3 separate regions of the Homo sapiens genome follow, and regions 1 and 3 are each linked to region 2. The links are contacts of gene promoters, found by promoter capture Hi-C in human tissues and cell types (Jung and others, 2019). All regions are on one chromosome and are shown on one strand. The core of a region is centred on a gene start or on the middle of the fragment in contact, and the rest is flanking DNA. Distances in the headings are between cores, read along the strand shown. Region 1 has its middle 2.3 kb from the start of TRIDDENT. Region 2 holds the start of CORO7 (coronin 7). Region 3 overlaps ADCY9 (adenylate cyclase 9).

Region 1 (2,700 bases), core at 170-2,669, 460 kb after region 2:
CCTCCTCACCCTGCAGCATTAAACCAAAGTGCTAATGATAACACCCAGATGAGTGCCAAGTGGAAAAATCAGAGCCTTACCATCCTCTGTGAAATCCTGAGTCAGTTTCACGCTTTGTAGGCATTTTAGGATTCAGCCATCCGTGAGATGATCCAGTTATTCCAATCAAATTCCACCTTCTCAATCCATGCAGCAATCCTCACACCAAAAACCATTCTGGGAGGCGTAAGAGCTGTGACGCGGCTCTGACAGCGACCTCCCCGTGCTGATGGTCACTTTGTCCCCACAGGTTGCCAGAACCTGATGTTTTTGCTGTTCGTGGTGTTGGATGGCTGCAAAGGGGTGACGGCGGTTCAAGCAGGCTTCTGACTTGTCCGTCGTATCCCAAAACCGGCGTTTTTTCCACACACACTGGCTGAAGCTTCCTACCTGTGGGCTTGGGAGCTTGCTAGTCACAGAATAAGGAAATCCACAGGTGTTAAAGAATCCGTCCATTCCAAAAGCGTGGATGGTTTTTTTTTAATCATCATGTTTTCTAGAAATTGCTCGGTTTTTATTTCTTTCCTCCCCTCTAACCCTCTTCTTATCCGCATTTTCCCATCTTCTCTTTTCCAGAAGACGAGAACCCTGTGGAGAGGGAGACTCCAAGTTTCCCTTCAGTTCACAGGAAGAGAGTTGCCGTGCAGGAGCCTAATTGTAAATTTGAAAAAATTAAAAACTGCTTATGCTCTGTCAATTACCAAAACGAGGAAGGACTGTATCTGTGAAATACGTATATATTTTTTGAGATGGAGCCCCGCTCTGTCGCCCAGGCTGGAGTGTAGTGGCGCGATCTCGGCTCACTGCAACCTCTGCCTCCCAGGTTCAAGTGATTCTCCTGCCTCAGCCTCCCAAGTAGCTGGGACTATAGGCACAGGCCACCACGCCCAGCTAATTTTTGTATTTTTAGTAGAGATGGGATTTCGCCATGTTGGCCAGGCTGGTCTCGAACTCCTGACCTCAAGTGATCCGCCCACCTCAGCCTCCCAAAATGCTGGGATTACAGGCATGAACTGCTGTACCCGGCCTGGTTGTTGCATTTTAATGTACTGAGCCAAGCACCAGGCTCCAGGGACACTGCTACTAGGTGGCCTGTCCTTGGCTCTGATGCAGGCGCTTCCAGGAAGAATGGGCTGCAGCTCTGTGCAGCCTGCCTGTGCTGGGCCAATGTCAGCTCCCCTTGCTCGAACAGGATTGGCCAGAACACGCCCTGTGCCTGCGAGCAGCCTTGAATGCCACTGGGGATTTGAGGTTTAGGCGTCCCGTTCCTTGAGCAGGAACCTCTGCAGAAAGGCAATTAGAAGAACAAAGTGCCCTCTCCCTGACGGTCTGTCTCCCTCACACCAAAAAGGAAGGTGAAGCTTCCTTTTTAAGGAGACCCCTTTTTAAGAACCACGGGGTAGCTGTGGTGGTTCACGTCTATAATCCCAGTGCTTTAGGAGACCACAGTGGGAGGATCACTTGAGCCCAGGAGTTTGGAACCAGCCTTGGCAACAGGGGTTGGAGGCTGCAGTGAGCTATGATCATGCCACTGCACTCCACCCTGGGCAACATAGTGAGACCCCATCTCTACAAATGATATAAAAGGCACCTGGGGGTGGTGGTGCGTGCCTGTGGTCCCAGCTATTCAGAAGCCTGAGGCAGGAGGATCGCTTGAATCCAGGAGTTCAAAGCTGCAGTGAACTGTGATTGTGCCATTGCACTCCAGCCTGGGCACCAGAGCGAGACCCTGTCTCTTAAAAAAAAAGAAGAAGAAGAAACATGTATGAGATAGAGCGCTGCAAATCTGGTTCCAACTTTCTCTGTGATTTTGCTGGAATTTGTTCAACACTGAGCTCACAGACAGCAGTGAACCAAAACTTGTTTTCTTTGGACTGCTTTGAGCAAAAATAGAAGAAAGGGGCTCATTTTTTTCCAGTGATTTTTTATTTTTCATCAATAGTGCAGATCCAAAGTAAGTATTTATTCACTGGCCTGATTTCCCAATCTTTTAACTTAGAAGTATGATTGCCAGTTTCCTAGGTTTTTAAGAATACGCTGAAAACAAGCTGCCAAGCTTAGGAGCCGAGAACCATAGAAAGTTCTGTCCATGTGCTTGGATCAGATTTCCAGCACAAACTGTGATGTGTACATCGCTTAACTCGGAGTCTGACTTTTGTTAGCTGTTGTTGGATGAACAGGTGTGTGCAGCGGATGAGTAACATGATACAAAGAGAGGTTGTACTTCCGCTGGGAGGAGAATGGGCATTTGGGTTTTTGTTGTTGTTGTTGTTTAATTTCAGCCCAACTGTTTAGAAAGAAAATTCTTGCTGTCTTTACCACTTTGTGCTGCACAGGGAGGTGGGAAGGAGGATGTTAGACGTGCGTATTAACAAATGCTCTTATGGCTACATTTTTTGGTCCATGCAAAAAAAAAAAAAAAAAAGTTCGTCTTTTTTTTATCCAGTTATCAAACTTGTGTAAAAATAAGAAAGTATATCCTTAAATAGAATTGTGCCCTGGAAGGAACCCAGATGGCTCTCTTGAGATTAAAATAGTCATCCCAGCCGGGCACGGTGGCTCATGCCTGTAATCCCAGCACTTTGGGAAGCCAAGGCAGGAGGACTGCTTGAGGCCAGGAGTTTGAGACCAGCCTGGCCAACATGGTGAAACCCCCTCTTT
Region 2 (2,700 bases), core at 70-2,569:
TAAAAATACAAAAATTAGGAGTAGTGGCGCACACCTGTAATCCCAGCTGCTTGGGAGGCTGAAGCAGGAGAATCGCTTGAACTCAGGAGGTGGAGGTTGCAGTGAGCTGAGATGACACCACTGCACTCCAGCCTGGGCAACAGAGTGAGACTCTGTCTCAAAACAAACAAACAAAAAGCCTTTTCAATAAACCACAAGTGACTTTGGTTCACAGTAAATACACTTCTGCCCGAACTAAGATAAAATGTAAGCATTGCTTTTCAAACCTTAGAAATGCAAGAATCAGCTGGGTGCGTTGGCTCATTCCTATAATCCCCACACTTTGGCAGGCCAAGTTGGGAGGACTGCTTGAGTCTCGTTCGAGACCAGCCTGACCATCATGGTGAAACCCCGTCTCTTACTAAAAATAAAAAATTAGTTGGGCGCGGTGGCAGGCGCCTGTAATCCCAGCTATTCGGGAGGCTGAGGCAAGAGAATTGCTTGAACCCGCGAGGCAGAGGGTGCAGTGAGCTGAGATCGCGCCACTGCACTCCAGCCTGGGTGACAGGGACTCCGTGTCAAATAAATGAATAAATACTAAAGAAAAATTAAAAGCTATTATTATTATTATTTTTAGAGGCAGGGTCTCTTTCTGTCTCCCAGGCTGGAGTGCAGTGGCACGGTCACAGATAACTGCAGCCTCGACCTCTTGGGCTCAAGGGATACTCCTGCCTCAGTCTCCCAAAGTTCGGGATTACAGACCTGAGCCACCGCGCCTGGCCGGATGCAGAGCGCCTGGCCGGATGCAGAGGCTTTTGAGTAGGCCCGGTGGACAGGGATTTGCTTTAGACCTGGGCCCCTGTTCCCCCTCTGCCTCTTACCACTGGTGTGACCTGGGGACCGACAGTTTACACTCTCCTTTAGCCGGGGGTTTCCTGTCTCTGAAATGGAGCTAATTTCTCCCCTCTCTACAGGAAGAGGTAGATAGTGCTGGAAGGCGTGCTAGGTACACCGCAAAGACTCCACAGCAAATCCTGCACACAAAATCGCGAATGCTGCAGCCGAGACCCCACGCAAGCAAGCACCGCAGGAGACGTGGGCTGACAGCTGCGCCCCACGTGACCTCCCACCCGCGCCAGTCCGTCCCCTCGGTATCAGGGCGTGGCCTCGCGGGGCGGCCGTACCTGGATTGGCCGGGAGGCGGGACCGGTGGTGCGCGCGCGAAAGGAGAGGGGCTTGGGGGCGTGGCCCAGGGGGCCGGAGACGGCTGCGATTGGCAGTGGGGCGCGCCGGGGGCGTGACCGCGGCATTGGGTCCCGGGTGGGGCCGAGGCAGCGGGAGTCGCGGTTGCTCAGCGTGCACCTGAGACCCGACGCCCGGGGTCCTCGAAGACGCGTCCGCCGCCGTGCCCGTCGCCATGAACCGCTTCAGGGTGTCCAAGTTCCGGCACACCGAGGCTCGGCCGCCCCGCCGCGAGGTGAGTCCGGCCCGAGGACCGGGCGCTGTCGCCTCGGGCCCCGTCCGGCTGCCCCTCCCCCTGCCCGGACCCCACAGGGGTGCCCTCCAGGGCCGTCTGGAACCCCGAGACCTCCATCCCCGGGGAACCCCCCTTCAGGCCAGGGCCCCGGCGTCCGGGCCGTTTCGTCGCCGCCGGAGGGCAGAGTCCGGCACTCCCGTGACTCGCTCTGGCGCTCGGTGACCCTGGCGGTCTGCCCGCCTCGCCCACCTCGCCCCGGGACCCCCGAGGCGGCGCAGCCCTCCTAGCCGGGGCCCAGGCCTGCGAGGCCGCCTGCCTTCCCAGCTTCCGGTCGGCCTCGCCGGGAGCCGGGGCTCGGGGCGCTGCCGGCGCCTGGCTCCTCCTCCCTGCCGCCCCGGGTCGCCCCTGCCCCTGGCTGGGCTGTGGGGAGACGCCCCTCTCTCCTCTGGCCCCGGCGAGCCCAAGTGTGTCAGTGGTGGGGAGGGAGCCCCTCGGCCGCACGCGCCCCTCCCTCGGGTTTCCGCCGGTGCTTCCTCCTCTCGCCGCTGGCGCAAGCTCTTTCTTTATCTCGGTGATGCTGCCACGGCTGGGTGGGGCCTGGGGAAGCCTGAGCAGGTGGAGCCCCAAAGAATTGCTGAGCCAGGTGCCGGGAGACCCTTCGGACCCCCGAAACGGCAGGAGGACTGATGAGGGGTGCGCCTTGGAAACGATGTCAGCTCTGCTCTTCCGCTTTCCGTGTTATTTGTAAGGCCTGGGAGTGTCCTCCGATAACTGGGCCTAGGAGTTGACCTCAAGTGACCCCATCAGGGTCCCAGAGCAAGTCAGGGCAGTCTGGGTAGAGGTTCCGTTTTTGTAGTGTGGACTATATTTCCTCTGCTTCCACTTTATGCTGTGCTAAGCTGCTGGAGACATCCCGGTGAACACAACGGCATTTTCCTTCCCCTGTGGCACTTGTAGCCTCATGAGGGAGACAGCAAGCAGACAAACAAGAGCATTGGAGGTTTTCATAACGACATTGAAGAACACACATGAGGGACTGGGATGGAGAATGGAGGGGGCCAGTCTCAGTAGCGTGGTCAGGAAAGGCTGCCTGGAGTAGATGGCATTTTAGCTGAGGCCAGAAGGGTGAGAATTGAGAAAGAGCCTGGTGGAGAAATGGAAAGTGAGCATGAGTGGATGGAGGGGATGGCCGGAGCAGTATGGTGACAGATGAGTCCAGAGTGGTCCTGCAGAACCCAAGGGCC
Region 3 (2,700 bases), core at 163-2,662, 310 kb after region 2:
ACCTGACAACCCAAAAGCCACCACCCTTTTCCTAGAAGTGTCTGCCTAAGCCTACCTTTACTCTACAGGAAATTAAAAGTAGGTATAAGGTAAGGCTGGGCGCAGTGGCTCATGCCTGTAATCCCAGCACTTTGGGAGGCCAAGGCGGGTGGATCACCTGTGGTCATGAGTTGGAGACCAGTGTGGCCAATATAGTGAAACCCCGTCTCTACTAAAAATACAAAAATTAGCCTGGTGTGGTGGTGTGCGCCTGTAATCCCAGGTGCTCGGGAGGCTGAGGCAGAAGAATCGCTTGAACCCAGGAGGTGGAGGTTGCAGTGAGCTGTGATCATGTCCACTGCACTCCAGCCTGGGCGACAGCCTAGGCGAGACTGCGTCTCAAAAAAAAAAAAAAAAAAAAAAAAAAGTAGGTATAAGTATGATTGCAAAACTGCCCTGAGCTGCTACTTTCCGCCTTTGGGAAAGCCCAGCTCTGCAGGAGCAGTCATGGAGCCGTATAACACTGCCTGCCTCTTCAATAAAGGTGTTTTCTTTCCTGCCACCGGCTCACCCTTGAATTATTTCCTGGGCAAAGCCAAGAACCCTCTTGGGCTCGGCCCCACTTTGGGGCGCGTCTGACCTGCGTTAATAGTTCCCAACCTCCGTGAGCTCACAGTTAAAAATGTTGTGGAGTATGTTCGGGAGTGGGGAGCGCTTTAGAGGGGGCTCCTGCTGGAGCTGGGTCCTGAGATCAGGCTGTGGCTCTCCAGGTGGACAGAAGAGCACCAGGGCAGAGCGGAGAGGTGGGTATGGCTGGGCCCTGTGCTTCTCTGTGGGGGCGGACGATTGTTAGTTGTTCATCAGGACAAGGAAGGCCATGGGTAGCGTGGGAAGGAGTTTGCATTTGACCCCATAGGTGTCAGGGAACCACTCAACAGGGGGCTTAGGTGATCTGACTTGCAGTTTTAGAAAGTTCACTCTTTCAGAGCTAGTGAGTGTGGGTTGGAAAGAGATTAATGAGGTGTCGAGTAAATCCCAGGTAGGGGTGATGGTGGCCCAATCCAAAGTTACAGTAGCAGTGATGGAGGTGATGGGATCTGAGTGGCATTAGGAAGAGCAGCTTGATGGGACTGCAAGCCAGATTTAAACAAACGACTGGCAGGAGGGGAAGGGCTTGACCATGTGAATGGGAAATGGCATTTTAAGTTTCTGGAAGTGACTTGGCGACAATGTGGAGTCAGGAATGGGTGAGGGGCCTTTGAAGTTGCTATGGTATGAATGGAGAATGCAGGATGGACTTGCAGAGTACAGAGGCCCGGAACCCCTGGCTTGCTTACTCATTCAGCAAATCATTTACTCCGTGCCAGGCACGGTTCTGGGTTCTGGCAATACAGCCGTAAACAAAACAGACAACAATTCCTGCTCTTGTAATAGGGGACAAGAATTTTTAAGTCAATAATATAGGAGGATCGCTGGAGCCCACGAGGTCGAGGTTGCAGAGAGCCGTGATTGCACCACTGCATTCCAGCCTGGGCGACAGAGTGAGACCCTGTCTCTAAGAAACAAAAACCAGGCCTTCAAATAGGGGAGATCTAATAGAGGGGACAACAGGGGAGTCAAACCATAAATAAGTAAAATAGAAAAAGTGTTTTGTGAACAAACATAAAGCAGGAAGGGGATACAGCAGATGGGGTGTACGAGTGTGAGAAATCTTATCTAGGGTGGCCAGTCACTGGGAGAAGGTTGCAGGAATTTTTAGCATACTGCTAGGATTTTGGAAATAATCTAAAAAGTGAGGGGCCAGGCATGGTGGCTCATGCCTGTAATCTCAACACTTTGGGAGGCCGAGGTAGGCGGATCACCTGAGGTCAGGAGTTTGAGACCAGCCTGGCCAACGTGGTGAAACCCCATATTTACTAAAAATACAAAAATTAACCAGGTGTGGTGGCAGGTACCTGTAATCCCAGCTACTCGGGATGCTGAGGCAGGAGAATTGCTTGAACCTGGGAGACGGAGGTTGCAGTGAGCCAAGATTGCACCATTGCACTCCAGCCTGGGCGACAAGAATGAGACCCTGTCTCAAAAAAAAAAAAAAAAGTGTGAGGGACAGTTATTAAAGATATGGAGAAATGGGCCGGGCGTGGTGGCTCATGCCTGTAATCCCAGCACTTTGGGAGACCGAGGTGGGCAGATCAGGAGGTCAGGAGTTTGAGACCAGCCTGACCAACATGGTGAAACCCTGTCTCTACTGAAAATGCAAAAATTGGCTGGGTGTGGTCGCAGGCGCCTTTAGTCCCAGCCACTTGGGAAGCTGAGGCAGGAGAATCGTTCGAACCCAGGAGGTGGAGTTTGCAGTGAGCCGAGATCGTGCCATTGCACTCCAGCCTGGGCGATAGGGCGAGACTTTGTCGCCAAAAAAAAAAAAAAAAAAAAAAAAAAAAAATGAAGAAACGGTCTGATTAAGGTGAGGGACCTTCCACAGCATTTGGGATGAAACCGCTAGGCCTGAGGGAACCGTGGCTGTTGTATTCTGCCTTGGGCCACAAGCAAAAAATGGTGAGACGTGTTATCTCGAGCTGTTGGCTTTTCCTGTCATAGATACAGGGTCACAAAGACAGAAAATGAAACTGTTAGAAAATATCTACAGGCATCTTCTTTTCCCGTGTAAATATTAGGAAGACAGAATGAAGATGCTCCTCCGCTCTCATCCACACCCATGGT

What was found. Contacts are between HindIII fragments. The study calls those that stand out against the background at their distance.
Region 1: a contact is called between a fragment that was not itself captured here and the fragment with the promoter of CORO7 in region 2, in 1 of the 25 tissues and cell types used here (dorsolateral prefrontal cortex).
Region 3: a contact is called between a fragment that was not itself captured here and the fragment with the promoter of CORO7 in region 2, in 4 of the 25 tissues and cell types used here (IMR-90 fibroblasts, bladder, dorsolateral prefrontal cortex and 1 more).

Annotation. Positions count from the first base shown.
Region 1 is chr16:3,951,432-3,954,131 of GRCh38, reverse strand. It overlaps a transcript of ADCY9 not described here. Among named protein-coding and RNA genes, the nearest start is that of TRIDDENT, 2.3 kb to the right of the region's middle. The HindIII fragment of the contact is 4,154 bases long and covers 1-2,700 here.
Region 2 is chr16:4,415,215-4,417,914 of GRCh38, reverse strand. CORO7 (coronin 7) reads left to right here and starts at 1,319. Exons shown (of 28, transcript NM_024535.5): 1 at 1,319-1,456. The coding sequence starts at 1,397. CORO7-PAM16 (CORO7-PAM16 readthrough) reads left to right here and starts at 1,319. Exons shown (of 31, transcript NM_001201479.2): 1 at 1,319-1,456. The coding sequence starts at 1,397. It overlaps LOC124903635 (a long non-coding RNA gene), which reads left to right. Exons shown (of 3, transcript XR_007064963.1): 3 at 954-1,190. The HindIII fragment of the contact is 38,450 bases long and covers 1-2,700 here.
Region 3 is chr16:4,108,083-4,110,782 of GRCh38, reverse strand. The region is part of intron 2 of ADCY9 (adenylate cyclase 9); the gene reads left to right. Among named protein-coding and RNA genes, the nearest start is that of ADCY9, 7.0 kb to the left of the region's middle. RefSeq lists an enhancer at 1,842-2,341. The HindIII fragment of the contact is 6,430 bases long and covers 1-2,700 here.